Linked DNA regions of Homo sapiens: region 1 is linked to region 2. Evidence: promoter capture Hi-C in human tissues and cell types (Jung and others, 2019). All regions are on one chromosome and are shown on one strand. Each heading gives the region's core, a stretch centred on a gene start or on the middle of the fragment in contact. The rest is flanking DNA. Distances are from core to core; before and after follow the strand shown. Region 1 has its middle 43 kb from the start of GPR83. Region 2 holds the start of GPR83 (G protein-coupled receptor 83).

Evidence for each region. The method cuts DNA at HindIII sites, captures the fragments that hold promoters and counts their contacts. A contact is called where the count stands out against the background at its distance.
Region 1: a contact is called between a fragment that was not itself captured here and the fragment with the promoter of GPR83 in region 2, in 1 of the 25 tissues and cell types used here (H1 embryonic stem cells).

The regions. Positions count from the first base shown.
Region 1 is chr11:94,356,845-94,360,237 of GRCh38, forward strand. No RefSeq gene overlaps it. Among named protein-coding and RNA genes, the nearest start is that of GPR83, 43 kb to the right of the region's middle. The HindIII fragment of the contact is 3,129 bases long and covers 121-3,249 here.
Region 2 is chr11:94,399,730-94,402,710 of GRCh38, forward strand. It overlaps GPR83 (G protein-coupled receptor 83), which reads right to left and starts at 1,690. Exons shown (of 4, transcript NM_016540.4): 1 at 1,132-1,690. The coding sequence starts at 1,518. The HindIII fragment of the contact is 20,224 bases long and covers 1-2,981 here.

The DNA of each region.
Region 1 (3,393 bases), core at 435-2,934, 43 kb before region 2:
ACTCCTTAAGTGTAGGCTGCACATAGTGACTTCCTTCCAAAGAGTACAGTATGAAAACTGGAGTTGGTAGGGAGAGTAACTATACAATGTGTGATGGTTAATATTCGGTGTCAGCTTGATTGAGGGGAGGCTAGATGGCTGGTAAAGTATTATCTCGGGTATGCTTGGGAGAGTGTTTCCAGGGGAGACTGACATTTTAGTCAGTGGACTGGGAAAGGAAGACCCATCCTCAATGAGGGTGGGCACCATCCAATCAGCTGCAAGCACAGCTAGAATAAAGCAGGTGGAAAAAGGTGGGATAAGTTTGCTTCCTGAGGCTTCTGGCTCTCTTTCTTCTTCTTGAGCTGGACACTTGCTTCTGCTCTTCTTAGACATCAGACTCCAGATTTTTCAACCTTTGGACTCTGGGACTTGCACCAGTGGCTTCCTGGGGTCTCTCTAGCTTTTGGCCACAGACTGAAGGCTGCACTGTCGGCTTTCCTGGGTGTGAGGTTTTCATAATTGGACTGAGCCACTACCAGCTTCTTTCTTTCCCCATGCAGATGGCGTATCATGGGATTTCATTTTGTAACTGTGTGAGCCAATTCTCCCTAATAAATTCCCTTTTATATATGCATATATCCTATAGGTTCTGTCCTTCTGAAGAACTCTAACACATGGTGGAAAAACCTGAGAAACAGTAACTTGGCCAGATTTTAACATCAGTAGTGACAATTCATGTTTTGATATAATGTGATAAAAATAGCACTTTACTTCTGTGGTCTTTATCCCCCAAAAATCCAAAACCCCACCTAATCATGAGAAAAAAATCACACAAATCTCAGTTGAAGGACGGTCTTCAAAATGTCTGACCAGTACACCTTCAGACTGTTGAGGTCATCAAAAGCAAGGAGAGGCGGAGAAACTATCACAGCTGAGAGGAGCTTAAGGATACATGAAGATTGAAATATAATGAAATGAAATGAAATAAAATAAGATAAAATGAAATGTGATGGACTGGAGGGAATCCTGAAACAGGAAAAGTACCTTAGGTAAAACCTAAGGAAATCTGAATAAAGCATGGACTTTAGTTAATAGTAATGTGTCAGTATTGGTTCAATATTTTGACAAATATGTCATACCAATGTTAGATATTTATAATAAGAAAAATTAGATATGGGATATAGGGAACTCTCTGTACTGCCTTTGCAAATTTTCTGTATGTATAAAACTATTTTAAAAGATAGAAGCTTATTTTTAAAAGTCATATAGTCTGTCCACCTTCATCTAGGTATGGGAAAAGATTACAGAATGAACAAATTTTTAAATTACGATGCAGTCAAAAAATAAAGCTTGATGAAATCACAAAACAATTCATCTAAAATTCAGGGCCCCTGACAGAGGCAAATGTCAACTTATTCATCATAATACCTGTGCAAACATAGCACTTCCACAGTACTTCTATAAAAAACAATTCTTGCCAAATATGAGCTCATAGGCAAAAATTACAAAACACACATGGAAATTCACCTTCATAAATGAGAGTTAACAGTTACAACAAACTGGAAAATTTGAGGTCAAGAAATCATAGAAAATAGTTCAATCTCTGAAGGACTTAGCAAATGACTTACCTGTTCAAAGACATAAAAAGAAGGAATAGCGTTCACAATACAAGGAGAGACTATTAAGAGAAAAAAGCAGACATATTTCAAAAAGGAATATGCAGTCACACTAGGAATATAAGAAAACAGTCATTTGGGCCAGGGACAGTAGCTCACGCCTGTAATCCCAGCACTTTAGGAAGCTGAAGCAGGTAGTGAGTCACTTGAGGCCAGGAGTTAGAGACCAGCCTGGGCAAAATGGCAAGACCTCATCTTTACAAAAAATACAAAAGTCAGGATTCCCTCCAAGATGGCCAAATAGGAACAGCTCCAGTCTACAGCTCCCAGCATGAGTGACACAGAAGATGGGTGAATTCTGCATTTCCAACTGAGGTACAAGGTTCATCTCACTGGGACTTGTTGGACAGTGGATGCAGCCCACAGAGTGGGAGCTGAAACAGGGTGGGGCATCACCTCACCTGGGAGGCACAAGGGGTCAGGGAATTCCCTTTCCTAGCTAAGGGAAGCCATGACAGACATTACCCAGAAAATCGGGACACTCCCACCCTAATACTGCACTTTTCCAATGGTCTTAGCAAATGGCACACCAGGAGATTATATCCCGCACCTGGCTTGGAGAGTCCCATGACGACAGACCCTTGCTCACTGCTACCACAGCAGTCTGAGATCCAACTGCAAGGCAACAAGGAGGCTGGGAGAGGGGCATCCGCCATTGCTGAGACTTGACTAGGTAAACAAAGTGACAGGAAGCTCGAACTGGGTGGAGCCAACCACAGCTCAAGGATGCCTGCCTGCCTCTGTAGACTCCACATCTAGGGACAGGGCATAGCTGAAGAAAAGGCAGCAGAAACTTCTGCAGACTTAAACATCCCTGTCTGACAGCTTTGAAGAGAGTAGTGATTCTCCCAGCATGGAGTTTGAGACCTGATAACGGAGAGACTGCCTCCTCAAGTGGGTCCCAGACCCCCAAGTAGCCTAACTGGGAGACACCTCCCAGTAGGGGCCGACTGACACCTCATACAGCTGGATGCCCCTCTGAGACGAAGTTTCCAGAGGAAGGATCAGAAAGCAACACTTGCTGTTCTGCAGTATTCACTGTTCTGCAGCCCCTGCTGGTGATACCCAGGCAAACAGGGTCTGGAGTGGACCTCTAGCAAACTCCAAGAGACCTGCAGCTGAGGGTCCTGAGTGTTAGAAGGAAAACTAACAAACAGAGAGGAATAACATCACAGCAACAAAAAGGACATCCACACCAAAACCCCATCTGTAGGTCACCATCATCAAAGATGAAAGGTAGATAAAACCACAAAGATGGGGAGAAAGCAGAGCAGAAAAGTTGAAAATTCTGAAAATCAGAGCTCCTCTTCTCCTCCAAAGGAACACAGCTCCTCACCAGCAATGGAACAAAGCTGGATGGAGAATAACTTTGATGAGCTGACAGAAGTAGGCTTCAGAAGATTGGTAATAACAAACCTCTCTGAGCTAAAGGAGGATGTTCAAACACATCACAAAGAAGCTAAAAACCTTGAAAAAAGATGAGATGAATGGTTAACTAGAATAAACAGCATAGAGAAGACCTTAAATGACCTGATGGAGCTGAAAACCATGGCAGGAGAACTATGTGATGCATGCACAAGCTTCAGTAGCTGATTCGATCAAGCTTCAGTAGCCGATTCGATTCGATGAAAGAAAGGGTATCAGCAACTGAAGATCAAATGAATGAAATGAAGTGAGAGGAGAAGTTTAGAGAAAAAAAGAGTAAAAAGAAACAAACAAAGCCTCCAAGAAACAT
Region 2 (2,981 bases), core at 440-2,939:
CTTTAGTAATCACTCAAATGACAAAGTTATTCCATAAAATGAAAAAATATAACACACTAGAGAAACATGCAGTATAACTGTCACTATGGTTGCTCAGTCATCGCCCTTACAGTCCCAAATCATCCATGAGAGCCACACTCCCCGGTCACAGCGGGACACCACCAGCGCTAAGTAGCCAGGGCTTGGGGAAGAATCCCATCAGCTGCCAATGTGCAAATGCCCCCAGCCTGCCCGATTTCTGGGGCCCAAGCCCACCTCCCCTCATTTCTTCCTCAACACAGACCTCAAACACAGCCTCATTATCAACCCACAGAAGGGAAATGCACTTTAAATAAGTGGTCTGGGAAAATGCACTTAATGTTCCATTAACAATTAGCAATTGTTTGATATTTCAGTTGTAGCACAAAGCAGTATCCCATGGGTACGGCTGGGCACTGAACAGGCTGCAATTCAGAGGGAGGGGGACCTGATCATCTCTGCTGACATTTCAGGGGCATTGATTTACTGCTCAATTATCAAGCAAGCCCAGACCCAGTGAGATTAAACAGGAAATGGTCATTCATTTCCAGCTGGCTGCAGACACTCAAACCATTGACCCAATGCCACCGCCGCAGAAGCTCTGGCTGATAAGGCGATGAGACAGAAAAAAGTGGGGAGAAATCAGAGAGTGAGGCAGGGGAGAGAGGAAGAGAGGAGAGGTGGGGAGAGGAGAGGAGAGGAGAGAGAATAGAAAAATAAAATCACAGAGAGACTGACAAGAAGAAAAAGAGATAACAGGTGAGGAGACAGAGACAGATGAATAGGGAGGCTGAAAGACAAAAAAAAAAAAAAAGATGAGGACACTGAGAGATAGAGAAGAGAGACAGAAAGACTTCAGAGAGAGAGACAGAGACTGAAAGAAAGACTAAGAAAAACAGGAGAGATACAAGAACCGAGATGACAGAGGAGGGAGAAAAGAGACTAGGACAGGAAGACAGAGGCAGAGGAGAGGAGAAATGAGGAGGAAGAGAGATGTGGAGAGAGAAGTGGGGACCCACAGGGAGACGCAGAACGGCAGAGGGAGGCCAGAGAACTGAGAGAGGAAAGGGAGACGAAGACAGAAGGTGGGGCGGCAGGCAGCGGGCCCCTTACCAAAGTGAAGGGGGTGTTGAGCAGCGTGATCATTATGTCGGCAACTGCCAGGTTGACGATGAAGAGGCTGGTGGCCGAGTGCATTCGCTGGTTCTTGAAGATGACATGACAGACCAGGACGTTGCCAAAGAGTGAGAAGACAATGATGAAGGAGTAAGCCACAATGAGCAGGGCTTTCACCGTGGGGTTCTGGGACTCAGCGCCGTAGCGCCTCCTGCCCACAAAGTTCTGCCAGTCGGAGAAGGTGTAGTTGTTCCAAGAGAAGAAGTGCGAGGCATTGGGCACGGCCAGGGCCGCCTCCGCGCTCTGCTCGTCGGCCCGGCCCTCGTGGGGCTCGGTGGCTCGCACCAAGGGGAGGAGACAGAGCAGCAAGAGGTGAGGGACCATTTTGCAGGAGCCACCCCTCCCCTGGGAGCCTGCGGGCCGGGCGTCCCCTCCCGCTGGGATCGGAGCGCGCAGCCGGGGTGCGGGGCGCACAGCATACAAGGCCGTCCCGAGGAGCCAGGGAGCCCGGACGCGCGGAGCACCGCGCCGCCCGCCACCAGCCCGCGGTCGGCACGCCAGCTCCGGGTTTGTTGGAGCACTTTTATATCTCTGCTCCCACCAGGCTGCTAGGGAGCGCCTCTGCCTATTGGGCAGCGCGGCGTCTCTCGCGGCGACGGTGACGCGCTCTGGCTCTGACAAGCCTGGCTCCCCCCACCCTACCGGGTGGCGCCGTTGCTGACCCCACGCCCAGCCGTTCCCACTCCCGCCTGAAACTCCTCCGACAGGGCTTCGCTTCGGGGGCTCAGTCCCCAGCGCGTACACACTCGCGTGGTGTCGGCTTAGCCTCTTGTAAAGGAAGCAGGGCAGGCAGGTGGGAGGAAGCCCACAGGGGCACTTGGGATGATGAGGGGGCATGCTGGCAAAGCCGGGTCAGTGACAAGGATATATTCCATTTGTTTCCACCTAAGCCTTAGCCTTGGCACAGTTTCAATATCGAAATGGATCGCTGCGTCCCGGCGGTCCCAGGAAAAAGGCAAACCAAAAAATAGAGACGTTAAGGATTCTCCAAGTCCCCGGAGTATCCAGATACCAGAGGTGCTGGAGGGCTTATTAAAGGATTACAGTTTCTTTGACAGCCCCCAGGAATGCAATCTGGGGAGCTTTGTTTTTCAAGGAAACTCTTCAAAGCAGTTCGGATACCATCAAAGAAGCGAAGGAAAAGAGAAGTTTAGCTGTGTGCTCACCTCTTGGGTAACTTGAATTTTTCTGCCATGGAAGTCCTTGAAGCTATATCTTTAAGGGATATTATGACCCATGCTGTTTTTCCTTCCCCATCTACTTCTTCAGGAAACCTTGCTATCCTGCTCACCCGTTTTCACTTCCACTGTGAAAACTCTCCCAGTCACTGGGTCCTCTGCCACCCACAAGCCTGTAGTAAAGACCATGGGCTCTGTAATTAGGGTTTAATCCCAGCTTTGTCACTTCCTAGCTGTGAAATCTTGGGCAAGCCATTTAACATTTTTGGCCTTGGTTAAAAGGCTTTCTTTTCCTAAATGTGAGGTTTTCAGAGACCCCTGTATACATCTCTCACTGCATTGCCCTCTGGTGCAAGACATGCAATATCTGGTTGACTACTGGTAACCACCCCTGACCCCCAACAGGAAACACCATGTAGATTCTTTACATTGTGTCAACGTGCCCTGGGGAGCAATGTCCTTGGGCTGGGACCCAAACAATGACTCAAACCTAGGTATTACTCTTGTCTCCAGTTTTCCACTTCACATGTACTCTTCAAGCAACTGTGTCTGGAGGAAAGGATGGCTAGCAGATAACCCTCAATTATACTGAAGGACCTGGCAGGTCTC